Linked DNA regions of Homo sapiens: all the other regions are linked to region 2. Evidence: promoter capture Hi-C in 16 types of primary human blood cells and fetal thymus (Javierre and others, 2016). All regions are on one chromosome and are shown on one strand. The core of a region is centred on a gene start or on the middle of the fragment in contact, and the rest is flanking DNA. Distances in the headings are between cores, read along the strand shown. Region 1 holds the start of TMEM167B (transmembrane protein 167B). Region 2 holds the start of CELSR2 (cadherin EGF LAG seven-pass G-type receptor 2). Region 3 overlaps ATXN7L2 (ataxin 7 like 2). Region 4 holds the start of PSMA5 (proteasome 20S subunit alpha 5).

The links. Contacts are between HindIII fragments. The CHiCAGO score rates a contact against its expected background, and 5 or more counts as called.
Region 1: the fragment with the promoter of TMEM167B here is called in contact with the fragment with the promoter of CELSR2 in region 2 in 2 of 17 cell types (M0 macrophages and M1 macrophages); the score reaches 5.9 in M0 macrophages.
Region 3: a fragment that was not itself captured here is called in contact with the fragment with the promoter of CELSR2 in region 2 in 9 of 17 cell types (fetal thymus, total CD8 T cells, naive CD4 T cells and 6 more); the score reaches 11.9 in fetal thymus.
Region 4: the fragment with the promoter of PSMA5 here is called in contact with the fragment with the promoter of CELSR2 in region 2 in 1 of 17 cell types (fetal thymus); the score reaches 6.8 in fetal thymus.

The regions. Positions count from the first base shown.
Region 1 is chr1:109,088,750-109,095,713 of GRCh38, reverse strand. It overlaps TMEM167B (transmembrane protein 167B), which reads right to left and starts at 4,950. Exons shown (of 3, transcript NM_020141.4): 1 at 4,832-4,950; 2 at 2,693-2,824; 3 at 1-1,297. The coding sequence starts at 4,841. The coding sequence ends at 1,215. It also overlaps the pseudogene NDUFB3P1. RefSeq lists an enhancer at 5,117-5,316. The HindIII fragment of the contact is 3,338 bases long and covers 4,376-6,964 here.
Region 2 is chr1:109,244,229-109,251,063 of GRCh38, reverse strand. It overlaps CELSR2 (cadherin EGF LAG seven-pass G-type receptor 2), which reads right to left and starts at 1,525. Exons shown (of 34, transcript NM_001408.3): 1 at 1-1,525. The coding sequence starts at 984. RefSeq lists silencers at 1-68, 1,167-1,266, 1,427-1,486 and an enhancer at 1,488-2,208. The HindIII fragment of the contact is 8,037 bases long and covers 1-3,454 here.
Region 3 is chr1:109,484,594-109,490,690 of GRCh38, reverse strand. It overlaps ATXN7L2 (ataxin 7 like 2), which reads right to left. Exons shown (of 11, transcript NM_001350175.2): 2 at 4,569-4,634; 3 at 4,081-4,185; 4 at 3,474-3,684; 5 at 2,887-3,173; 6 at 2,226-2,308; 7 at 1,591-1,844; 8 at 563-761; 9 at 299-420. Among named protein-coding and RNA genes, the nearest start is that of ATXN7L2, 3.7 kb to the right of the region's middle. RefSeq lists an enhancer at 6,077-6,097. The HindIII fragment of the contact is 440 bases long and covers 3,661-4,100 here.
Region 4 is chr1:109,423,747-109,430,152 of GRCh38, reverse strand. It overlaps PSMA5 (proteasome 20S subunit alpha 5), which reads left to right and starts at 3,705. Exons shown (of 9, transcript NM_002790.4): 1 at 3,705-3,851. The coding sequence starts at 3,823. RefSeq lists enhancers at 3,145-3,204, 2,711-3,642. The HindIII fragment of the contact is 5,034 bases long and covers 2,081-6,406 here.

The DNA of each region.
Region 1 (6,964 bases), core at 3,701-6,200, 160 kb after region 2:
GGACCCTATGAACTGTCCAAACACACTGATGAATATCAGCAACTTCTCTCATTTGAATTTCTCATGTCCTTAAAGTAAATAGAATTTCCAGAGACAACTAAAGAGCAATGCAATATGAAGAAAATTAAAATTTGGCTAAGAAAAATAAGTAATCAACTAAAAATTGCCATAACACTCAGACTTAAACAGAAAATAAGTTTGTTGTCTTTTATAAGATGACAAAACTTCAATCTAACATCACAAGTTCTTATACTAGATGAATTTACTAGTATATGAATCAATATACTAGATTTCTTTCTTCTACCCCAACTGCAAATATACTAAACAATTATTTCTTCAATAGTTTCTTTTTCCCCTAGTCGTGGCATTTAAAACTGAGTAACAGTATTTAGCACTAAGTAAATTTAGAAAATATAAAAAGGTTTTACGAAATAGCAATAGTTGATTCATTTTTCATATACCATCTGATCAAGTGAAGTCTCCATTTGAGGATACTGGTGAACAGAAAGATTTTTTCTTGTCTAAGCCACTGCTTTCTGGTCTCATCACACAGATAATTCTCAAATTTTATGTAGGCCCAGATTTTCTTGGCAAAACTCTCAAGATACCAGCACATAACACAGCTACTTCATCTGTTCTCTTTTTGCAATGAGCACTATGCCTCTCTTTTATGTTCCCGGATGGGTACATGAAAGATAAATTTCTAAAGCCAAAGAATTTCTTGGCATTTCATAACTGTTTCCCACCCAGCATCCCCTCCCCAATTTGCCAGATCCAAATCAAAGAGTGAAAAGAAGTCTTGAAAATTCTCTCTCTTCAAAAGAAGTCTGAACACAGCCTAGTTCCTTCCCTAATGAGCCTCAGTTTGAAAAGATCCTGATGAGGAGCTGAAGAACAAAACAGGATGACAGGTTTTTATGAAGGAGGTATGTAATCTTATCACCGAGGGGTGTAATTTATCCGGACATTATATGCACTCTGCCAAGGACTGATTTACACATAGATCAAAGGAAGCTGGCTTTCTGTAGTCCCCTGAAGCATAAATAATGTTCGTGACCATGAGTTTTCCCCACATATAGCAGGGGCAGATGCTGTGGTGTCATCCTGGGGACCGATGATTTCAGCTGAACTCTCCTACACTGGGTTCAGGTCTCCAACAGGTTCTTCATCCCCGTCCCCTTGGTTGGCAGTTGATGACTTGGGTGCTTTGGAATTCATTTTATAAACAGGACGTAAAAGGCCATTACAACACAAGCAATTGCCACAGCAGCATGCAGCCTGGTTCCAATCACAGCGGCTAGCAGGCAAAAGAGAGAAGAAATCACACCCTGCCCTTCACCGAAGTCCTCACTTTCAAGGTGATATTTTGAAGTCTCTAGTCACAGACAGACATATCAACGCTCTCAAGGGCCTGGGATGTTTTTATTTTATTTTTGGAGGCAGTCTCACTCTGTCGGCCAGGCTGGAGTGCAGTGGCGCGATCTCGGCTCACTGCAACCTCTGCCACCCGGGTTCAAGCAATTCTCCTGCCTCAGCCTCTTGAGTAGCTGAGATTACAGGCGCCTGCCACCATGCCCAGCTAATTTTTGTATTTTTAGTAGAGATGGGGTTTCACCATCTTGGCCAGGCTGGTCTTGAACTCTTGACCTCAGGTGATCCACCCACCTTGGCCTCCTAAAGTGCTGGAATTACAGGCGTGAGCCACCGTGCCCGGCTCCCTGGCTAATTTTTGTATTTTTAGTAGAGACAGGGTTTCACCATGTTGGCCAGGCTGGTCTCGAACTCCTGACCTTGGGTGATCTGCCCTCCTCGGCCTCCCAAAGTGTTGGGATTACAGGCATGAGCCACCGCATCCGGCCTCTGAGATGTTTCTAAATGCTATCCTTATGCTTTAGGGTCTAGGTGAATATACTGTTTGTTTATATTTTGTCCTTTTTCAAAAAAAAATTTAGGTAGATAGGATTCCAAATGAATGTGCCTCAAATAAAAAGTACAAAAAAGCATCTGAGTTAATTAACTCAAACCTTAAAACAGACTCCAATGTACCATTTACAGAAAATCAAGAAAAATTTTCCGTAGAAAAATTTTTTTCCCACTGAAGGGAGGAATTCCACCCCAGCCTAAAATGATTTGATGTGTATACTTTTACTCCATGGAGAATACAAAAATCATCTGGATGCTAAAATAGACAATTATGTTTTTAAATAATTTTTTTTTTTTTTGAGACAGGGTCTCACCCTGTCACCTGGGCTGGAGTGCAGTGGCTCCACCATGGCTCACTGCAGCCTCAACCTCCTAGGCTCAAGCAATCCTCCCACCTCAGTCTCCTGAGTAACTGGGACTACAGGCACGTGCCACCATACCTGGCTAATTTTTGTATATTTTGTAGAAATGGGGTCTCACTGTGTTGCCCGGGCTGATCTACAACTCCTGGACACAAGCAATCCTCCTGCCTTGGCCCCCCAAAGTGCTGAGATTATAGGCATGAGCCATCACACCCAGCAAATTTTAACTTTTACCTCTTCCCTCAACTTTGGAGAATGATTAATTTTCCAGACTCTCAGACCCAATCGGAGGGATTTTTTTCTAAAAATGAAACCAAATATAATCCCAGCTCACTGTACTCCCTACTTTGTAGCTCCACACTGTCCAGAGATGGCAGTCTCTTCTCCCTGTCCAGACATGGCCTCACCTTTGTAAAACACACCCCAAACACCCTTCTTCTCTGATAGCAGCCAGGTTTTGAGACGAGGTACTTTCTTGAAGTAGGCACAGGTGCAAACAAAGAGCAAACCAAACACCAGAATCCCATCCAAGGAGTACACTGTTAAATAAAGAAGAAAAGAAAACCTTAGGTACTGATCTAGCGTCGGACCTGTGATCCCGCCTGAGAACTCTAAGGAAGATAGTGTGTGACATAATAACAAAATAATAACCTCAACAGGCAGTACTGACACTTGACAAGGGGGAGCCAGGATCCTGGGACTAACACGATTATTTTACTGTTCCCAAAAATTGCTTGTAGGAGGAAGGGGGATCAATTGAGCCCAGGAGTTCGAGGCTGCAATGAACTACGATCATGCCACTGCACTGTAGCCTGAGCAACAGAGTGAGACCCCAACTCAAAAAAAAATTTTTTTTTTTACATCCCCTTTACTAAAATGTCACTGGTCCTTCCCCTCACCTTTCAAGAAGTAGAAATCCTGGGCAGAAATTAGCATCCCAGGAATGACTAGTGTTGGCAATAGATTGAGACATATGAATCCTTAGAGACTCAGCACAGAGAATTTAACATGTTCTTGTTATAAATCACTCATATGATAAAGGAGAGCTAGATATGTAGCCAAAACTGTCAGATGTGCAACTGTTGGTGAAGAATATGTTAAGGCAAAAAATTAAGCTTAATGAAAGTTGCAAGAGTAAGAATCCACATGACTACAATTTTCCTATCATTATCTTACACTTTATGGATGATACTCTTAACAAACCGAATTTCTGCCAGAATAATAACAGATTTTTCTAAAACAAAGAAAAAGTATCTAAGGCTTCAACATAGAAAGCTTTAACTTCTTAGCTCTGTTTCTTAAATACATAAACCAAGCTTATTTCTTGTACAGGGAAGCACAATGAATCACCTAATTGCAAAAAACAAGAAGATATTGGACCACAAAATGGGGGAAGAATGACTAAAATTTATTCAGCAACTACCGTGTCAAACTGCTGTCTTACTTCCTGGTTCAGATTCTGTCTTCCTCTGGGTAAATTCCCTTTTCTTACTGTGCCTAGTATCCTGAGACCTCTGACTTCCCAGGAAGCTCCAAATGAATATTATATATAACCAGTGTCTGCCAGTTCTAGATCACACTACCTCTCTTCCTCCAGTAAAACTGTCTCACAGCTAAGCTGTCACTAAGAAAGGGTCCAGCAAATTAATACATACACTAAGGTTTTCTGAGGAACTATACCTTCACGTGCTACCCCTTTTCTCTCATAAGTTTCTGCAGACAATGCCAAAATTCACAAGGAGGTTAAATTCGAGTCTTCAGTGCCAGGTCTATGGACAAAGTACTTTTGAGAAATGCTTTCCGGAGCCCCTCAAATCATCGTAATGCCTAAAAGGCTTTCTCTTCTCCTTTCCTGTAAGGTTGACACTAAAAATCATGAAGGCCCTCCTTCCTGTCCTCCTCTGGAATTCAGAATTCATAAAGTGTTTGAAGAGGCCTGGAAAATTAGGTCAGATAAACTGCCTCATCATCTAGAAGAGGCAGTGTCTAAATCCACCCTTTGCAACACTAGTCAGGGTCTCCACGTGGGATCACCCCGCCAGGACTTTAAAATCAGAAATCTTTCCGGTATTTTTCCGTAAGAAGAAGCTTTTGTGGGGTCTACATTCACCAGCAACCCCAAAAGTGTGGGACTTGATATTCTATGTCATTTATTGGCCCTCTCAACAAAACTACGGTCCGAAAGCATGAGAACGCAGGGAGCTGGGAGGAGGAGCCTCTCTCTTCCCCGGGTTTAAATAGCAGTAGTACCTCTGGGACTGACCTCTCCAAGGGCCAGAAAGAACTAAGAAAAAGAAAAGGGAAAGCAAAGCATAGGGATAGATAACTCGAGGTGTGAGCATAAGAGGCACTGGGGGTCCTAGATGAATATGGGAAGGGGGAACCCGTAGAGGAGTATAGGGGTACAGAAGTTAGGGGCGTCGAGAGGCCAAGGGGGGCCGGGCTGGGAGGGGGCGGGGAGAACGGCCACGTCAGTCCCGGCCCCGCCCGCCACGTTTTCCCTTCGTCCTTCACTCCCACCCTCCGCTCAGGGCATCAGTTCTCACCGTTCGTCATGGCGGCTGGCCCTGGACCTGGGTAGGGGGTCCGGGTTCAGTGGTAATAGCGGCGGAGATGGGGGAGCGCCCGCTTGACACTTCCCGATCCGGGCCGAGGTGACTGGAAGAAGCCGTAGTACGCAGGAGCAAGGGCCGAGAGGCGAGCGCCGAACGCTATCAGGAGTGGCTAGCCGATTGTCGAGCTCGGGAAACTGCGTGTTTACGTAGGGTAAGAAGAACGCTATCTCGAAGGCTTCGTACTTGGCCGTGGTAACTAAGTCTTTTCTGCGTGCCCCTGCGGGCGTAGGGCTGGGGCTGGCCCGCGTCAGTGTGTTTGAAAAGGTAAAGGCTTGTAGTTTTGTAGTTTATTTTGCGCCGTGGCGGCTGCTGTGTGTAAGCAGCAGCCTACCTATGAGGTTTTCATCGTCCTGGGCTTCCACTTGAGAGAACTCCAGCACCGCGGGTGAAGAAGCCGCACCTGCGGCCTCCGTGACTGCCCTTGAGCTGCTCTTCCTTACTCCGGATGGAAATCTAGTCAGACTGCGTCTGAACGTTGCAAATGAAATGAGGAACCTTGTAACAAAAACAAGTCGCGGCCGGGCGCGGTGGTTCACGCCTGTAATCCCAGCACTTTGGGAGGCCGAGCCAGGCGGATCACCTGAGGTCGGAGTTCGAGACCAGCCTGACCAACAAGGAGAAACCCCGTCTCTACTAAACATACAAAATTAGCCGGGCGCGGTGGCTCATGCCTGTAATCTAAGCACTTTAGGAGGCCGAGGCAGGCGGATCACCTGAGATCGTAGTTCGAGACCAGCCTGACCAACATGGAGAAACCCCGTCTCTACTACAAATACAAAATTAGCCGGGCATGGTGGCTCATGCCTGTAATGTAATCCCAGCTACTCGGGAGGCCGAGGCAGGAGAATCGCTTGAACCTGGGAGGCGGAGGTTGCGGTGAGCCGAGATCGCGCCATTGCACTCCAGCCTGGGCAACAAGAGCGGAAACTCCGTCTCAAAAACAACAACAACAACAACAACAACAACAAAAACCAAGTCGCATCTTTCAGATCCTAAAGCACCACGTCGTCGGAAAACATTCAAAGGGTTGCCCGTTTGCTTGTGTGAATTTTTCTTTTCCTTAAACTATCAGGAGAATCTCGATTCTCCTGCATTTAATTAATGCTGGGATCACTTCAGCCACTTTAACCAGAAATCGGCGATATCTAGACACCGCTTCTCTGAGGACACTTTGACAACGTGACAAAAGACATTGCCAGTCTAATGATGGGGGTGGGGTGGAGGAGACAAAAGTACAGATTCAGATTTGCATACTGAAATCCTTAATTGCACACAACTCGGCCCGCTTTATTAGAGTTCGGGCGGAAGTGCGACACCGAGTCCTCCAAGGCTAACTGGAGGGTTAAATTATACGGTTACTAATCCGCCGTGCTTGTCAAGGGCCTAAAGGGACTCTGCCCCTTTCTGCTGCAGTGCCATCTGCTGGCTGCAGCCTGCTTGGTTACCCAGAGGGAAAACTGCCAAAGCATCCTCTGGAAGCTGGCCTGGAAAGACAAGCCAAAGTCTAGTGCAGGACAGATGCCTTGAGAAAATATACATACATGCAGAAAGAAAAAAAAAAAAAGACGGCGTATATACGGGACAAAACCTAGGACAAGGCCAGGCAGCCACTCAGATTATATATATGTTTGCACATTCACACACAGACAAATTCCCCTGCCCAAAAGAACTGTTCAGGACCACTCAAAAACAAAACAGAACAAAAGCTCTATTGTTTAGGCCTTCGAATCCTTCATCAACCATTGTCTAAAACAGCAGCAGCTGGCCGGGCGCGGCTCACGCCTGTAATCCCAGCACTTTGGGAGGCCGAGGCAGGCGGATTACCTGAGGTCAGGAGTTCAAGACCACCCTGACCACATGGTGAAACCCCGTCTCTACTTAAAAAAAAAAAAAGAAAAAAGAAAAAAAGAAATACAGAAATTAGCCTGGCATGGTGGCGTGCGCCTGTAATCCCAGCTACTCGGAAGGCAGAGGCAGGAGAATAGCTTGAACCCGGGAGGGAGAGGTTGCAGTGAGCCGAGACAGCACCACTGCCCTCCAGCCTGGGCGACAGAGCGAGACTCC
Region 2 (6,835 bases), core at 276-2,775:
CAGGCGGTACAGAATATTGGCATTGGGAGGGGCATCACCATCCGTGGCCCTGACAGTGAGCACCTCATAGCCAACCTCCAGGTTCTCCCTGAGGCTCTCCTTGTACTCCTGCTGCTCGAACACAGGGTCATGGTCATTGGTGTCAGTAACCAAGATGGTGAGTGTAGCCAGGGCACTTCGTCGGGGCATGCCGTGGTCCTGCGCCGTGACCCTGAAGACGTGGGTGCTCTTGGTCTCACGATCCAGCTCCTCGGCTGTGGTTACTGCACCAGTGACTGGGTCCAGGGAGAAGAACTGGTTGGAGCGGCTATCAAAGAGGGCATCCATGGTGTACTCCAGTCGACCTGCCTCACCCTCGTCCGGGTCGATGGCCCTCAGGGATGCAACAGGGGTGCCTGCTGGCTGGTTCTCCGGCACTGTGGCCTGGTAGCTGGGGGGCTGGAACTGGGGGGCTGTATTTACATTCCTTTTCCGACGCCCACCCAGGGACTCTTCTGGTGACCTTTCCCCTGCCCTGAGCCCGGGGGCCTGTGCCAGCTTGCAGGACTGGCATCTGAGCCGTGGAGCCTTTAAGCACGGGTGCTCCTCGGGCAGTGTGAGCTTGCCCTGTGGGGAAAGGTGGCCTCCAATGCCCAGGAGGCGACAGCTCCAGGGGCAGCCTTCAGGAGCTGGTGGTAGGGGAATATGGGCCTCGGATTCTGGACACCAAACCCTCAGGCCATCGTGGTGGGGTACCAGGTGGCCAGTCAGCTCAGTGCCCGCATCCCTGCAGCGGCTGGTGTAGAGCCAGAGGTTCGACGCTGAGGATGGACAGAGCCAGCCCATGGGGGCGCAGGCCCCCGAAGAGCCTCGTCCCCTGGACCCCAAGGAACGACAGGGCCCCACTTGGTCTCCCAATAGTGGCGGCGGCAGCAGCAGCAGCAACAGCAGCAGCAGCGGCGGCGGCGGCGTTGGGAGGGGGACGCCGGTGGCCGGGCTCCGCATCTCTCCCAGCTCCCGGCCGGCGGCCGGGTCAACGGCGGCGGCGGCTCCTCCTCCGGCTCCTGCCGGCCCCGCCGCGCCTCATGCCCGGGCCAGGGCGCCAGTCCCCGGGGGCCTCCCGTGCGCCCCGCGGGGCCTGCGTCTGGATGGCTCGGCGGGACCCCGCGCTGCACCCTCCGACGAGCCCGGGCTCCCACTGCCCCCTGAGCCAGACCCGCTCCCGGGTCACCCTGAGCACCGCGGGCTGCCGCCGCGCCTCCACCTGCGCTCCGGGCACTCACCACCTGCGCCCGGGGGCCCCGCGGCGCCCCTGGCCTTGCCGGGCCCCGGGTTCCGGAGCCGGGGTGCCCCCTCCGCCCCTATGGGATCGCCCACCTGCGCCCGCGTAGCCGTGCGCCCCGACCCCGGCCCGGCCCCGGCGGCCCCCGACGGTCCCGCGCCGCCCGCTCGCGCCCCGCGTCCCCGCCGCGGCTGCTGCCTGTCGCCGCGGCCCCGGGCCCAGCCCCGCGCTCCCTCGCCTCCCCGGCGGGCGGGCGAGCTCTGCAGAGTCGCGGCGGCGGCTCATTACCATAGACCTGCTCGCGCCGCGGCCGCCTTAAAGCGGCAACGCCGGCCGCGCTGGAGGAGGTGGGCCCCACCCAGAGCACTCCTCCGCCCAAAGCGCCAGGATTCCCTCCAGCAGGACCCTCCATCCCAATTTCCCCAGGCCGGCCTCGCCAGATGCCCGGTGCGAATTAGCGATCGGAAGCCACACAGCCGATGATAATCATGGTGGAAGTACCCTAAGTATGCCTAGAGGTTTCCAAAACATTTTAAGGGCTCTCAGAGGCCAAGTTTCCAGTTCATTCCAGTCATAAAAGCCCTCGTTGCTGTCCCCTCCCATAGGTCAGACAGAGTTAAAAGGGCCCTGAGCAACACAACAAAGCCTCCAAAATCCCAGAGAAGCACCCACAATGAGTCACCGGGCCCACTCGCTCCCTACCGTCCCCTCCACCCCACCAGCGAGGCTGTTGTCTGACCAGCATGCCCCTTGGGGTCGGGCTGTTGGAAGAATGACCCCAGCCTCATGTTGGACACCACTTGGGCTTTTCCAGGGAAGTAAATTAGAAGGGTCAGAGTGGGTGGAAGCCAGGTGGTGCAAACACACTGTCACCAGATTCGGAGGCCGGCTGCGGTGGAGCCTAGCTTTAACACAGGCTTCCTGGATTCTAGACAAGGGGCTTACACTGCCCCCTGAGGTCCTGTCTAGAGAGGCGGCCTCTCATCCCCTCCTGCCTCCCTGTCCATGTCCTGCGGCTACCCCCTCCTTCCGCCACAGTTTTGTGACCAGCGAGGAGGCCTACCTGGTACCCGGGCTCCTGACCCTCTCCAAGGCAGCTTCATTTGAGAGGGTGTGCAGGATTCCAGGGGTTCTCCAAGAGGACCAGACATGAAGCTGGACCACACGGAGAGCCAGGCAGGAGCCGTGCAGGCGACCCAGAAAAGGCTTCCCTACATCCTGGAGCAGCCAGGGGCCCAGTCAGGTAGTCCCTGGGGGGATGCCCTGGCCTGGGGGGATGCCTGGGCCTGGGTCCCAGCCTCCAACACCACAGCTATGTGACCTTGCTCAAATTCTGTGCCTCAATGTCCCTTTTTGTAAAATGAGGGGATTGAATAAGGTGAATGGTTCTCAAATGTTTATTTAGCAGTAGAATTCTTTTCTTCAAAAGAAATCTGAAGTGGAAGGCCAGAATATAGAACAGATGAGTAGTGCTGCTGGGTTGAAGTGAGGGGGTCAGGGCCTTGCCCCTCTCCACCACTCCCCCAACCAAGAAATCCCTGGGCTGCTCTGTGCAACTTGAGGGTCTGGAGGAACCCATCTGAAAAGCACTGGATCAGGTGCTCCCTTCTACCACTGCCCCCGGTCACAGTGGTGCCACTCTCACTGGGTCACAGCAGAGGATCCCCCAGCCCCAGGCCCAAGGAGTGTCTGTGTGACCACACAGTGAGGCCAAGGATGAGAAATCAGCTTTTCTCTTTTCCCCTGGGGAAACAGGAAAGGAGATGGGCCTTGGGTACAGCAAGAAAGATTAGGGTTAGACTGTGCTCCTGGCAGGATGGATAGAAGTAGGAGGAGGACCCATGGCTCAAGGAAATGCCCTCCCCTTTGACCAAACAGGAGCTTTCTTCCTCTGAGCAAGGCCAAGGGCAGCTCTGGAGATGGAGGCGTGGGTTACACGCCTCCGCAGGGCTCTGCCTCTCTAGACTTCCTCAGACTCTGGAGTTTGGAAGGATCTAGGGGCTGCGTGGGCATTTTGTTCTTCACCTAATAGCCATGTGGTGCAGAGAATGCTTGGAAATTATACCATCTGTTAATTATCCTTTGAATTGGGGTTGGGTAATGAGACTCTCATTTCTGGTGAAGGCCCAAGCCAACCCGTGGAGAAGCTGCAACTCTCCATTCATCTCGCTCCCTTTGTTGCTAAAATAAGCTTTCTGGGTGGGAGGAAAGAGTAGCCCTGGCTCTGGATCACGGAAGGTGGTTCTGGGGCCTTGCACCTTGAGGCAGGGGTTGCCAGGGAAGGCATGAGCTCAGAAGCCCCTTCCAGGTGGGTGGCCTTTCCACCCAAAGGCAGATAGGTTGGGGGATCCAAGGAACCCTTTCCTTCATCCCCAAGCACATTTGGCAAATAGTCCTTAATCCTCCCCAGTCCTCCCTCCGGGGGCACAGGACAGAGCTCTCTCCCCATCACTTCCTCAGATACTTCCAACTCCCAAAAGCAGGAGGGAAATTTCCAAGTTTCATATGCATCACTGAGAGTCTCAAATGAGGGAGGGGTTGCCCTGGTGGAGGCCTCCCTGATCCCCAGGGAAGGGCTGCCTGCTTCATGGAGCTTTCCAGTTGTAAGGAACCTATGGACCTCCCTCCTGTGTGTAAGGGACATTTAGGCCTCCCTTCTGCATAGCTTTTAGGTGCTATCAAGGGGCAGCAAGGGCTTGGGGTCTGTTAAAAGAGAATTTATTGTTCTTCTAGTCCAAACCTCCCACTTCACAGTGGAGGCTCTGGGAAGGAAGGAAACCTGCTTGGCTAGCCTTGCGGCTGTCCTTTAGCTCTGGTGGGATTTCCTTACTCAGGTTGCTTCCTGAGGACCCCCTGGATAAGGCATGGCCCTGGCTTTCAACACAACAGGGTCGCATGGGTGAAGTGCTCCAGAAGCAACTGAGAGAAAAGGCTAAAGGAATTCAGAGGACAGAGCAGTGAGGGTGGAGGAAATCCCAGAGGGCCTCTAGAGGAGACGGGACTTGGGCTGCATCTTCAAGAATCAGGAACAGCATTCCTGGAAGAGGAATTCATCAGTTAAGTCACTTAATCTACACATTAAGTGTCTTCTCCATGATTATACAGCTAGTAATGGAAGAGCTAGGATTTGGACCCCGGCAATCTGACCCCAGAGCCCACTCTCTTAAGCAGTACACTATGAATGAATGAAAGGAATGAATGAAATGCAAGCATCAGCTTGGCTGGAGCTGAAGATTGGGGTGGCTCTGCTGTGGCCTAGCACGCTGGTGAGGAAGAACAAGGTGAGCTCTGCCTTGGGCAGATCCCTGTGGCCTGAAATTCTGGAACCAATGGCCTGCTGGGAAGGAGGGGTGGGGAGGGAGGCTGCTGATGGGATCGGTCATGGTGACCTTTTGTGGGTGGGCAGGGCAGTTTCTCTGGAAAGAGAAAGAGGCCCTGGCACCCGATCCCATTTCTGGGCTCTGTGCTGCTTTAGAAAGGGCACAGAAACCAGAAGGAGAGAACCTGGCCATGGGTGACTCCTGGAGCTCCTGGACTGTGGGGTGGGTGGCGTGAAGGAACCAGGAGCCAGCAGACTGGGGGATGGGGGTGGCCAGAAATCTGAACACCCTTCGGTCTACACTTGCCTGTCGTGCCCCGCCCACTGTTCCCCACTTTCTTCAAGGCTGGAAGGTGCACTCCTTGTGGGGGCTCTGTTGTTTCTCAGTTCCCCACTTCAGGTCTGTCACAGAGGGGGATACTCAGTCAGGATTTTATGGATTCTTCATGTGGTCACCTCCCCTCCAAACCAGTCTCTGCTCGGCAGTGAAAGTAATTTTTTTTTAAACTAATAAACATTTTTAGGTTTAAAAAATCTCCCCCAGTTTTTTATTTGGGAAAATTTCAAGCCTTCAGAAAAATCAAAAGAATGGTGTAATGGTATAATAAATACCCAGATATTCTCCTGCTAGATTCAACAATTTTTATTTTATTTTTTTCAGACAGGGTCTCACTGTGTTGCCCAGGCTGGAGTGCAATGGTGTGATCATAGCTCACTGCAGCCTTGACTGCTTGAGAACAGCCCCAAGTGATCCTCCCACCTCAGCCTCCTGAGTAGCTAGCTGGGACTACAGGTGCAGGCCACCCATGCCCAGCTTTTTTTTTTTTTTTTTTTTTTTTTTTGAGAGGGGGTCTTGCTGTGTTGCACAGGCTGATCTCAAATCCTGGTCTCAAGTGGGATTACATATGTGAGCCACTGTGCCTGGTGTCTGGATTCAATAATTGTTGACACTCTGCTTTATGTCTCTCAATTTTTGAAGAATGAGAGGAAAATGAGGTGCCTGAGCCCTGGGCCCCTCCGCAGGCAGCTCCTGAGAGTCAGGGAATGCAGTATTTTTTTTTTTTAATTTTTTTTGAGACGGAGTCTTGCTCTGTTGCCCAGGCTGGAGTGCAGTGGCACAATCTCGGCTCACCACAACCTCTGCCTCTCGGGTTCAAGTGATTCTCCTGCCCAGCCTCCCAAGTAGCTGGGATTACAGGCATGCACCACCATGCTCGGCTATTTTTTGTATTTTTAGTAGAGATGGGGTTTCACTATGTTGGCCAGGCTGGTCTCAAACCCTTGACCTTGTGATCCGCCCGCCTCGGCATCCCAAAGTACTGGGATTACAGGTGTGAGCCACTGTGCCTGGCCAGGAATGCAGTTTTGTGGGTAAAGTGAATGAGTTTAGAGCTGCCCTTAGAGTAGCCTAGAGACCCAGCTGGGCTACCAGATGGTGGCTCCAGGTATAAAGAGACATCTGGTCAGCCCTCTCTGCCATCCATCCAGTCATCAATCCATCCATCCATCCATCCATCCATCCATCCTTCCTTCCTCATTTCAGGTATTTATTTTTTGACCAATATTTTCCAAGTGCCTCCCCTTCTTCCCTTTCTTGCACACCCACAGGACTGCTGCTTCGACCAGGAACATGAAGGGGAATTCCTGGTATCATCTAATATCCAGTCCAATCCAAATTCCTTACTGTCTCCCAAAGGTCTTAGACAGCTGCTGCTTTCAAGTTCGTGGATTACATTTGGTCATATGTCACTCTTTTTTTTTTTTTTTTCTCTCTCTCTCTCTCTCTTTCCTTTTTTGTTGACATCGACTGAAGAGTCCAGTTTTCTTATTGAAGTGCCACATTCTGCATTTATCTGATTAAAGGATACCTAATGGTATCCTTCACAGGGTACTATTGCACGGCCTTAGATCTGAGCATGTCATTCCCCTTCTGAAAACCCTGCCGTGGGCCTCTGTTGTACCTTGAATAAAATCCAGCGTCCTTATATTTATCCACAAAGTCCAGTGTGGAGTGGCCCAGCCTCTTCTCACTCCTCCCCTTTCACTCTGTTCTGGACATGCTGGCTTCCTTCCAGCTGTTGAACATGGCAGTCTTAAATGCCCCCACTTTCCTGGCACATATGACAACTTGTAATTAGAGTATTCACTTGGCTAACATCAGTCTTACCCACTGGCAGTGAGCTCCAGGACCAGCGAGAACACATATGTCTTGAATGCCTATCACCTAGCACCTAGCACAGGCCTGACACACACAG
Region 3 (6,097 bases), core at 2,631-5,130, 240 kb before region 2:
ATTTTAAATCTTGGTTTGGGCATCCCCTATCCCTAGTTACCCAAAAGGTACTGGAAGTGATGGATGAAAGTCTAGATTCACCCCCAGACCACCCTTCCATGCCCTGCCTTAGCCAAACTCTAGGCTGCCAAGTTTTCCCACCTCCTTTTCATGCTACTCCCTATCTGGGGTCCTGCTGGCAAATAGCCAAGGCACACCTATGGGTATACAGGAAAGATCAGGGCTTCTGAAGCCCAAGTATGTCTGGAACCTAGGAATTTCCATTCTAGAACTTCCATTCTGGGTCCGAGAGACTTACTTCCACATGTGTGTGCTGAGGTGCCGTTCCAGCATGGAGCTGAGTGCTGAGCAGAACCGGTCCAGCCGGCGGCTAAACACATAGCATCCTGGGCTCACCAGCCGGCTCCCAAAGGTGCAGAACTAAAGGCAGAAGGAAGGTGCATGGTTGGCAGGGTCTGGGGTGCACAGACAGCATCTGCACACAGGATCTGGCCTCCTCCCCATGTTGTTGGCCAGGAGTGCTGGGCCACCCCCTCCATAGGCCCCTATTCCAGGTCCTTACCGCCTGTGGCCGTGGGGGCCGGGTTGCATAATGGCAGTCAGGGGGTGGGTGGAGGTCGTCAGATGTCCCCTCCTCCTCACTCTCTTCGCTGGAGGCCTGGGTCCCACCCCGGGGCATGGGGAAGGGGAACAGGCCTGGGTCCCCATCACCACCACAGGGGCCTTCATCATCCAATTCACTCTCGGAGGAGGCCCGGGACCTGGAAGGGCCAAAAGGGATGCCAGGGGAATGTGACTGTTGTGGGGTCAGAGTAGGGGCATCCTTGAACCTGCCGAGCTCAAAGAGCAGGGCACCAGGGCAGACACCCTGCAGGGCAATCAGAAGAGGACAGAGGGAAGGGAAGGACAGGAGGGAACGACACAGCTCACAGAGTAAGAGACAGAGAGACTGCTCCCAAGGGATTCTCTCCCCAGCCCCTTCACCTCCCAGCCCCTTCCTCCTCAGGGGATAATCTGCTGCAGATCCGCCTCCTCCAGAAAATCTTCACAGTTAAAACTGTACCCAGCTCTGGTCAGCCCAGTCAACTCGCTCAACCCCCTTCTTGCATCACATATTCCTGTGAGCCTGTCTGTGAGCTGAGCCTGTGTTTCGTGTCTGCCCCTTGTGTGACAGGCAGAGATGCATGTGTGTCTCCTTCAGCAAGTCAGGCTCTCCCTGGGGTCCGGCATAGCCTCTGCACGCGAAGGGGCCAGTGAGTGAATACACATAGGGCTGCCTTGCCCAGGAGTGTGACCCTTTCAGCTCCCCAGTGACAAGTTTCGGTCTGTTGGAGGCAGCTGGGAAAATGTTCATATCCTGAGTGTTGGATCTGGCACACTGCCGAGAGGCTGGGGTGCTGTGGTATGCCTGGTTGGAAACAGGGGAGTCTCCTGCTTCCACACCACTGTCAGGAGCCCCAGGAATACCCCCACACTCAGGGCTGAGGGAGTGCCTCTTCCAGGACACTCCCTGAGCCTGTTTCCAGGGGCCCCTGATGGCTTAGGGGCCAAGTACCCCCAGGTGAGGTAGGGGTTGGATTCTAGACGTACCTGGGCAGTGCACAGTATGGGTAGGTCTGCTTGGCACGAACAGAGAAGGTGCTGCTGGGAGCAGCCACCGCTGCTACAACCTGGACTGAGGAGGGGAGCTCCTGGGAGGGGCGCTCGAGAACTTGCTCCTTGCGCCCTGGGCTCTTCTCCTTGGGAGACTCCCCTTTGCGGGAGTTGGCCTTCAGCTCTGCCACCAGCACGTCAAAGTCCTTGGCCCGGCCCTGGACTTCCCGGCGCTGGTGTACTGAGTGGATCTAGAATACAGCAGAGTGGAGAGCTGGGGAGTAGGTATGAACTGAGAAGGGGTGAGGGACGGCAGGGTGCTTTGGCCCGGGCAAGTTGGGGGGCAGGGAGAGAGGTGGGCATATTTGCAGCTGTGTTCATGTGTCTTTGTTTCATTCCCCCATGGGGCCAAAACCCTCCTTTGGGATGGGGGAATCTGGAAACTCCCTCCTTCCCACTGTTCCCACCTTCTGCCCAGGAGGGGCATACCCATCTCCCCTTCCCTTGGGTGGGCCTAACTGCCCTCCCTTAAGCTGGACCTTCAGTAACATCGACATTCCTCTCTTTGCCCAGGGAAGGAGTGGGCAAGCCCTGTGCTGTCCTCCCTCACCGTGCAGTGGGAAGGGGGTTACCTTGCAGGTCAACAGGCGGGTACAGATCTTTTTGGTCTCTGGATTTATTACCCCACACTGCCTGTTGAGGTCGCACTCCTTCCCTGTGGGGAAAGCACTTCCAATGAACCTCAAGACCATTTCCAGGAGTTTACAGGAGGATTTGGCCGCTTCCTGCCAAGGGCCTGAGAACTGGTACTAAGGCAGAAGAGACTCCAGCCCTCAGCCTGGGGCTGTACCTTCCAGATAAACTTCTGGGCATCAACATCTCCTTGCTGGGTGTGAGAACCATCCCTATCCCAATTTCAGGTGCGCCTTTTGGGACTTCAAGCCCAAAGCAGGGCAACACACATCAAGAAACAAAAGCAGCCATGGGCATCTGGGAGGCCAGAGAAGCCAGCTGTGAGATGTGTCTGGCTGGCGCCCTGGATCTAGGTGAGAAAAGAGTGAGAAAGAACTTCACCTCCTGGGCATGGGCTCCCTCAGCCTTGATCAGGAGACACAGGATGGAGAGAAGCTTCCCAGGAAGCAAGCAGGTCAAGAGGTGACGGGGCTCCTATACCCTACAACCTGTGATGGCCAGGCCCATAAACCTGACCTCCTCCTCATCCAGCCCAAGGACAAAGCAGCCCAAAGGAGTCCCCACTCTACATTCTGGACCCCCAAGACCACAACTACTCACGAGCCATCTTCCGGTGGGTTTTAGGGGGCAGCCTGGTCCCACTGGGCTCCTTTTCAGGAGGGCTGCCTTCAGCCCAGTGACTGGACCCCTCACTGGGGATGATCTCGATGTTCTCTCTGCCAGGAGGTTCTTTAGAAGGGGGAGCCATGGGAGGTTTTCCAGGGGAGTCCTTGGTGAGGCCCCCTGGCTGGCTGAGAAAAGCAGAGGGTGGGGCCACCCTGATTCCATGTCCATCAGGCTTCGGGAGACTGGACATCTTCTCCAGATTCACCACAGGCACGAAAAGGCTACACACAGAGAGAGGGGGTTGGCTGAGGGAGGGGAGGGGAGGCGAGGCCTGGGGCCTGGACTCTAGCCCAGAGCCATCTCTTTCCCAGCCCTGGAATTTGGGTGGGCTCCAGCAGGGGTGTGAAACACGGGAAGAGGAGACCCCATCTTCCCTGGAATATATGGAAGGAAGCTGCAGACAGGACGGCTGCCTCCTGCTGTGAGGAGTATGCCTTGACCCAGGGCTGTCTGTATTGATGTCAGCCCATCCATGGGTCAGGGTCAGGGCCAGTCTTAGAAAGTTTCCAGCCTCTCCTTACCAGAGGTTGTCCTTCTGGGTCTTCTCAGGAGGCTGGTGGCCACGGCTCCGGGACCCCTGGCCCTTCTCCCTGGAGGAGGTTTTCGTGGAACCTGGGGCCCTACAAGCTGGGCCCTGCCCATTCACTACATGGCATTTCTGAGAGCTGGCAGGGGCTGGAGGTGGGGGTGGGGCCCGGCCATAAAGCTTGCTGAGGGGCCCATGTCTTCTTTCTGTCACCAGGAGGTGGAAAGAATAATCAAGGTGAGTGGTATCACCACTTCCTTCCCCAACCTAACCATGTCCATAGACTCACATGAGAGAATCTGAGTTTCCATAAATTAGATTGTAAACATGCCTCCTTCCCATTTGAATCTGAGCCTTTAGGACTCAAAATTCAAGACCCAGCTTCCTGAATGTCTTAACTCCTCCCGTAATTCCACTGGATGCTAGAATTTTGTTCAAACAATAACCCGACTCCCCACAATGCTCTGAAGCCACCCCCACAACCTTCCTATCCTCAACACCACCCTCCATTACCCTACGAGACCTCCCAACTGACCCTGTCCTCAGAGTTCCATGCTCCACCTTCCCCTGTCCCTTTATCTCCTCCCTAGGGCTCCCCTCACCGCAGTGCTTCTGGAAAGCTTGAGGCTTCACCACTTGGCTGCAGTGGTTACACACAACCAAGTAGAAGTCATCATGGGCAGGGCAGTGCCCGAAGATGGACATGTCTGCAATGACAGAAGCCCATGTCACTGGGGCTGAAGATCCCAGGGTTTCTCTGGAAGATCGGAGAGCACTCCCACCCCACACTCAGAAGGCACTTCACCTCCCCGCTGATATAACAAGCTCCATGCTGAATGCTTCCAGCTTCCAGAGTTCGATCTAAGCAGTCCCAAAGGGTATACGCTTTCAGGTGAGTGGGCAATCACCTATGATTATGATCTCCAACGACAGGTCACAGGAGCCAGAACAACCGGCCGACTCGGACCTATCAAAATGAGGGTCCCCAGACAGCTGCTTCAAGCAGCCACCTCCTTCTGTAGTGTGGTGGAAAAGTGGAGCGTGGTCCTGTCTGCCCTGGGTCCCAGCCCTAATGTGTGTCGACTCCCACCTTCTTTAATGAGGGTCATGGCATCCAACTTCTTCGTGTTTTTGCTACTCTCCTCCAGCTCAGCCCCTAGAGGAGAAACACAGCTCAGAAGGGTCAGGGCCAGTTTTAGAGAGTCTCCAGCCTCTCCTTACCAGAGACTGTTCTTCCCAGAAGACAACCCAGAGGTTGTCCCCTTTCCAGAAGCCCCAAGCAGGGCCTGCAGCTCAACAGTATGAAGCCCACACTCCGTGACAAGCTCCTGGTGCTAGGACCACTTGGGGAACCTTTCAGTGGGTCCATTCTCAAATGCCCATCTTCCTTCACCTGCTGCATCTGGACTAAGATGGCCCCACTAAGAAGAATCCATCCACCTTTCTTATGGGACCCTTCACTTCAAGGTGCAGTTTAGGGTTCCACTGCTAACTAGTTGGGTGATTGTGGGTAAGTATCATCTCTTTTCTGGGCCTGCTTCCCCATTTAAAGGGGAAACCGTCCTTAACCAATGTTTCTATAAGTCCCTGAGTCTCTTCTTGAGATTTCTCGATGGGTCCTTTCTGCTACTATGTGGCATCCCAAATAGATACTCTCCCAGGTCCCCACCCCCATGAACTCAATTTTGCTCCACCTGGGTTACCATAGCATTGTCAAAGTTACACCCAGCTTCTCAGGTCCTGCACTGATAGGATGGTCACAGAGCAGAGAAACTGCTGTCTTTGGTCCTTGAGCATCTTCAAAGTCTCCTTGGTCAGCTATGCAAGTCCCTCCCCTTCTTAGAGGGCCTTTGGGCAGGGGTTGCCCTTGTACCTCAGTTTCTGGGTTAATGACAAAAACATCTTAGCTGTGCAAAGCAGCTTTTTCCCCATCCCCCTACCTCTCTCCTCCCCCCTCCCTCCTCTACGCCCCCTCCCTGTCCCTTGGGAAAAAAAAAATCAATTCTGAGTCACCAAACCCGTCTGACTCCATTTCCGGTTCTCAATGCACCCAGACCCTGACAATGGCCCCATCTTTGCCCACCCAGCATGGGGCAGCCCCAGGGTGGCCTGGGCTCCCACTTAGGTCTGCTCTCTGATGCCCATTAACAGATATGCTCCTTTCTAGGATGAGAAGATTGTTGACAATCTTATATAATATCCAGATTATGAGGGGTCGTGGGTTAGGCACGCAAGAGACAAGGGGCAGCTCCCACTCTAAGTCCGTTAAATGCAAGTGCGGGGAATGATGGATAGAACGAAACTGGGAGTCGGATGTCTCAGAGGAGAACAAGTGTCATTAGAGACCCCTCCGTGCAGTCTCCTCCTCCACCTCTTCTCACTTGCAAACTTCTTCAGGGGCGTGATGCCTGCTGTCACCCCGAAAGGCCACGAGGCCAGGTGCTCCCTGGGGCCCAGAAGACAAAGATCAGAAGAAGGGGCTGTAGGCCCGCTCACTAAGGCACTCAGGGGCCTAGAGAAGGTGAGAGTAAGAGCAGAGAGCCAAGAGGCAGGGCAAGAGGCCTGGGAAAGGACAGTGGGTTGGAGGCATGGATGGATGGACCGAAGGATGGAGGGAGG
Region 4 (6,406 bases), core at 2,456-4,955, 180 kb before region 2:
CTCATATATGATGTTTGCTAACAAATGTGAGTATTTTCAACATTTATCGGGCTATTAACTTTACCAAACTACTTCATTTACTTCCAGTAGAATGACACAGCTTCCAATCTATAGTTGAAAAAGTATCTTTACTGCAATACAGTTTGTTTCATCTGTAAAATAATCATGGCAGCTTTCAATTAAGGATGATCTTCCTTTCTTTGCAAAAATGTGCAAAATAGTACCAAAATATTTGAGAACTCTCACTCTATGGGTGAACGCAGAACTTTTATTAATGTCTAAATAACTTACATTTCTCCAATGAGGAAGAGTCCGCATCTCTCAGTATATTTCACCTAAAAAGGTGTAGCCAACCAAACTTTTGTCTATTTTATTTAAAAAATTTAAAGAAATACAGTACTTAAAAACATTTTAAAGTGGCTATTTGAAATTCTGAATTTTCTACTTACTCTACTTCTCCAAGTCACACATATATTAATGTCTATGGAACTAGTATGCCTATAGCAATCAATCAATCAATCAATCCTTATCTGGAGGCCATTATCCTTAGCAAACTAATGTAGGAACAGAAACCAAATACCACATGTTCTCACTTACAAGTGAGAGCTCAATGATGAGAACACATGGACACACGGAGGGGAACAACACATACTGGGGCCTACTGGAGGGCGGAGGGTGGCAGGAGGGAGGGGATCAGGAGAAATGACTGGTGGATACTAGGCTTGATACCTGGGTGACGAAATGGTGTGTACAGCAGATCCCCATGGCACACGTTTACCTATATAACAAACCTGCACATCCTGCACATACACCCTGGACTTAAAATAAAAGTTAAAAAAATAAATACTTATTTACTAAACAAATGTATCTAGAGCATATGCCAGGTGCTAGGCTGAACAAGAGAGTACTGACCCTCAAAGAACTCACATTTCCATTATTTTCCTTTTTCCCCCCTTTAACTTAAAAAATTATTTCTGTTGTGGTAAAATATCCTAACATAAAACTTACCATTTTAACCATTTTTAAGTGTACAATTCAGTGACATTAAATACATTCACACTGTTGTGCAACCATCACTACAATCCATCTCCAGAACTTCATTATCATCCCAAACTGAAATGGTGTACCCATTAAACCCATTAACTCCTCATTCCCCTTTTCCTCCAGCCCTAGATAATCACTATTCTACTTTCTGTTTCTATGAATTTGACTATTCTAGGTACCGAACATAAGTAGAATCATACAATATTTGTCTTTCTGTGTCTTGAGATTTCGCCTAGCATAAGGTCTTCAAGTCTAATCCAAGTTGTAGCATGTATCAGAATTTCATTCCTTTTTAAAGGGTGAACAATATTCCTTTGTACGTACACACATTTTAACTTCAATTACTTTTAAATAGCTAATTTCTCATTTTATTTCTTTCAAAGACACATTATGCTAGCTGCTAGATTGTTACAATGCACTCTCTTGGGAGAAAAGATTTTCCTTCCTATCCACAATTACCTGCAGCTCCCCTTCATTTATGTTATATATAGCACAAACACATTTACCCAGAGGAGATTCTACATTCAAGAACATTTCGTAAGCAATTCACTACTGTCTCTGACATTGATAGGGTCTGCAGAGCACCATGGAACCCTGGGTGCTCAGGAAATATTATGCTAAAGTACCTACGTAGTAAAATAACTCCGTTTTTTTTGGTTTTTTTTTGAGATGGAGTCTCACTCTGTTGCTCAGGCTGGAGTGCAGTGGTGAGATCTTGGCTCACCGCAACCTCTGCCTCCCAGGTTCAAGCAACTCTCTGCCTCAGCCTTCCGAGTAGCTGGGATCACAGGCACCCAACATCACGCCCAGCTAATTTTTGTATTTTTAGTAGAGACAGGGTTTCACCATCTTGGCCAGGCTGGTCTTGAACTCCTGACCTCGTGATCCACCCACCTCGGCCTCCCAAAGTACTGGGATTACAGGCGTGAGCCCCTGTGCCTGGCCATAAAAGAACTTCTAAAGAGCAGCTGTAGTGAATTTACGACCAAGACTTTTCCATAGAAAATAACTGATAAGGTGAAAAAAAAAAAAAGCTTGTCAGAAAGCTGACAAGAAAGCTAAAAATTACCATTCTTTTCTCAGAAATCTAACAGATCCCAGAGGATTGCTACTTGGAGTTCTTCCTCAGTTTTATTAGTGCTAAACATCTGATTGGCCAGGGATGACCAAACTAAACTCCTACTGAATCCATGAAGGAAGTCAGAAAATAAAGGGTGGGGAAAACTAATCTTGGTTAATACTCAAAAGGCTTATTTTTACATTTCCTGCACCTTTGAAATGCCTTGGTGACTTACAAACCTAATCTAGGACCAAGAATGAACTTTACTGGAGAGATACAGGCCTTGAGAGGTTAAGGACTTGACTAGTGGTATCACATTAACAACTGGAAATGAGATGCTGGCATTTCCCTTTCCAGCATATACTGCCTGATAAATGATTTCTTTCCCCCGACTCCAGCTTTAAGGTGTAAGTGACAAATAGAAATTGTTCATGTTTATGGTATACAACGTGACGTTTTGATATACATATATATACACACACACACTGCAAATAATTAAATGAAGCTAATCAACATAATCCATCATCTCACATACTTTCCTGTGGTGAGAACATTTAAGGTGTACCCTCTTCACAATTTCAAGTACACAATATATGATTATTAACTATAGAACTCATCCACCTTCTCTGACTGAAACTTTGTATCATTTGACCAACATTTCCCTATATTCCCCACCCCCGTGCCAAGACTTCTTACTTGCCTTTCTTGAACAAATACTTGAATTACAGTGTTATTACGAAGCTGCAAAGTTGCTCCTCAAGCAACTTATTGAAGGGAAGCAAGAAGCGTCGAAAAAGAAAGCGCTTTTTTTTTTTTTTTTTTTTTCGGATAGGGTTTGGCTGTTGCCCAGGCTGGAGTGCAATAGCACGATCTGGGCTCAAAGAAAACACTTATTTTTCACAAACAACAGAAAAAGCAGTGAATATTTTGAAGTCTGGATCCTGAACTCTAGGTTATTTAGGTCTGAAACCTGTACTAGGGGGAGGGGTGCAAGAAAGAGTTGATAAAATTACCTTAACCATGTGGAAACTTTAAGACTTTCTTACATACTAACCCCTCGCCCCCCACTTTTCTCAATAAACGAGCCAAACTGGCTGAAACGAAGGGACTCGTCCGCGGCGCCGGCTCAGACCCACTGTAGCCGACTCATTACCGCCCAAAGTCCTGGAGCCCTCGACCGGGCATGGAGAACACCGTGGAGGAACCCTAAGAGAGGGAATCCTGCGAAGAGAAGTCAGGTGGTGGCCTTGCCGGAAACGGGACCAAAGTCCTCTAGCTGGGATTACGGGAGCCGGCGAGGGACCTATTATGTCAGGGTTCAGACAACCCAGCTCTGCATGCAAGCCTTTCCAATTGCCAGTCTTGGGGCGGGCTCACATCTTCTCTACAAGGCGAACTCACTACACGCCTTGGGTGCCTATCGTCCCTAGCAACCACCCGCGATTTAAGGCGGAAGTACCTCCCTGGTCCTCCTCCTCCTCCGGACCAACCAAGCCCTCGTGAGGAAGCGCGTTGGCCCAATCACCTAGGCGGGAACTACTACCAGCCAATAGGAAGCAGGCACAGGAGGGCGGGCTAAAGAGGTCGCGGTCGCACGCGCAGTTGGTCCTTAGTACTGCGGCCGTGTGGGTGAGTTGGCTGCCGGTGAGTTGGGTGCCGGTGGAGTCGTGTTGGTCCTCAGAATCCCCGCGTAGCCGCTGCCTCCTCCTACCCTCGCCATGTTTCTTACCCGGTCTGAGTACGACAGGTCCGTGCAGCTGGGGGACGTCGGGTGGGAATTATGGGTGGGCAGGCCCGGGACCTGGCCGCGCGGCCTGGGTTCTGCCGTGTCATGGGGCTCCCCAGGAACCCGAGACTGGCCGGACCTGGGGATGTTATGCCCTCCTCAGGCGCCCGCCGTCCTTCCCCAAGCTAGACCACATCGGCGGCACTTGTCCTACCGCTGAGTCACCCCTGGGTCCTAACTCGGTGCGGAAGCGAGAAGCTCCGGCTGGTGCTTGGTAAAGAAGGCGTGAGGAGCCGGAACTCCTACCTTGAACCCGGAGAAGGCCAAGGGTCACTCTTTGCTCCGTTCATCTTTTCGTGCCTAGTATGACTGCCTTGAACAAACAAACAAAAAGTTAAACGTGCTTCCTGGAAGAAAAAGCAACTGGTTTGTAGTAGGGCATGCTGCGGTGTATAGTTTCTTCAGAAGCGCGAAGGCAGTCGTAGCTTTGGCTGGATATATTGTCTGGAGTCTGATTTTATAGGAACTGGAATTTAGAATGGTTTTCAAGAGATTTCTCATCATGCCGATTCCAATTGACCAAAATTTTTTCTGACTTTTTAAAAGTTTAAAGCAAGTTTTAAAAAACTTTTGTGGTATGAAAATGTTCACAATATTAAGTTGTACATATATATGCTGTAGACATTTTTACTTTCAGTTTCTGTTTTCGTCAGTTAAGTTTTTACATAGCTACTCTTTTTTAAAGTCAGGGAAGGCAGACATTTTCTTTGTACTGAGTGGTATGAGATGCTGCATTTCCTGTCAAGTATATGCTGATCCTGTCGAAGTTTTACCACCTGCAGTTACCACTTTTTCATCTTTTTTACTGACTCGTAGAAGATGTGTGTGAAGTTTTGACATATTTCCCCACTGTCCTATAAAGTGACTTTGTTGGTCGATATTTAACTTCCAGAACATTGAAGAGAATCATCTTCGGGTGACATAATTTTGAGTTAGGGTGTGTATGATAGAAATTGTTATGCTTATCAGAAGGCATTTATTAAATTTTGTGGCCATTTACTTAACATATGTATTGACTGCTTTGTTACTTATTTTTCTGTCTTCCCAAGACGGCCTAAAATACATCCCTTTTTATTCTCTTAGTTAATGTGCTTGAGTGCTTGCTGTGAACAAGGCACTGTTCTAGGTGCTGGTGCTACAGCAATGGACAAAATCAAGCTCCTTGCTCGCATATAGGAGACTCTTTTGAGACAGTCTCGCTCTGTGGCCCAGGCTGGAGTGCAGTGACGTGATCTTGGCTCACTGCAACCTCCCCCTCCTGGGTTTTGTTTGTTTTTGAGACGGAGTCTCGCTCTGTCGCCAGGCTGCAGTGCAGTGGCATGATCTCGGCTCACTGCAACCTCCGCCTCCTGGGTTCAAGCGATTCTCCTGCCTCAGCCTCCCGAGTAGCTGGGACTACAGGCGCGCGCCACCACTCCCAGCTAATTTTTGTATTTTTAGTAGAGACAGGGTTTCACCATGTTGGCCAGGATGGTCTCGATCTTTTGACCTCGTGATCCACCTGCCTTGGCCTCCCAAAGTGCTGGGATTACAGGAGTGAGCCACCGCGCCTGGCCTGCCGCCTGGGTTTAAGCAATTCTCTGACTCAGCGTCCTGAGTAGCTGGGATTACAGGCGGTGCCACCACGCCCGGCTAATTTTTGTGTTTTTAGTAGAGACAGGGTTTCCTCATCTTGGCCAGGCTGGTCTTGAACTCCTGACCTCGTGGTCCACCTGCCTTGGCCTCCCAAAGTGCTGGGATTACAGGCGAGAGCCACCTCGCTCGGCCTGAGACTCTTAAAGAATTGTTTACAGGTACAGTGGCTCATGCCTGTAATTCCAGCACTTTGGAAGGCCGAGGCAGGATTGCCTGAGCTCAGGAGTTGGAGACCAGCCTGGGCAACATAGTGAGACCTCATCTCTACTAAACATTAAAAAATATCAGCCGGGTGTGGTGGCGCTGACCTTGTCTCCAAAAAAAAAAAAGAATTGTTTACAGAAGTAACTATAGTGTGAGTCAGAAATATATTAATGCCATTAGAGAAATTCAAATCAATACCATGGAAGTTTTGATGAGGGATTGCATTCAATATGAGACGATCATGGAAAACTTCACAAAGGAGCTGACATTTAAACTAGGTTTCTTGAAAGAGTAGGAATTTAATAAAGACAGTGAGATCAATAGTTGTGGGTTGGAGAATATGGGATAAATGAAGGAGGGGCAATGGAAAAGCACAATACATTTTGGGAAAAGTCCAGTCTGACTGGCACATATGATACGTGTATGGGAACAGCAGGAGATAATGGGAAAAACAGGATGCTGCTAGATATTGAATGGTTTTTAATACGAGGCTAAGGAGTTTGGGTCCTATTTCTGTAGGCAACTGTGTGCTGTTAAATAATAATTGTGTTTTACAGAGATTAATTGTCTGAATTAGGGGAAAGTGAGTCAATACCTGTTAGTGTTAGGCTATTAACAATAGTTAGGTGAAAGGTAATGAGGGCATTGAGAAGGAAGAGTGATGTGTTACTGTGGAG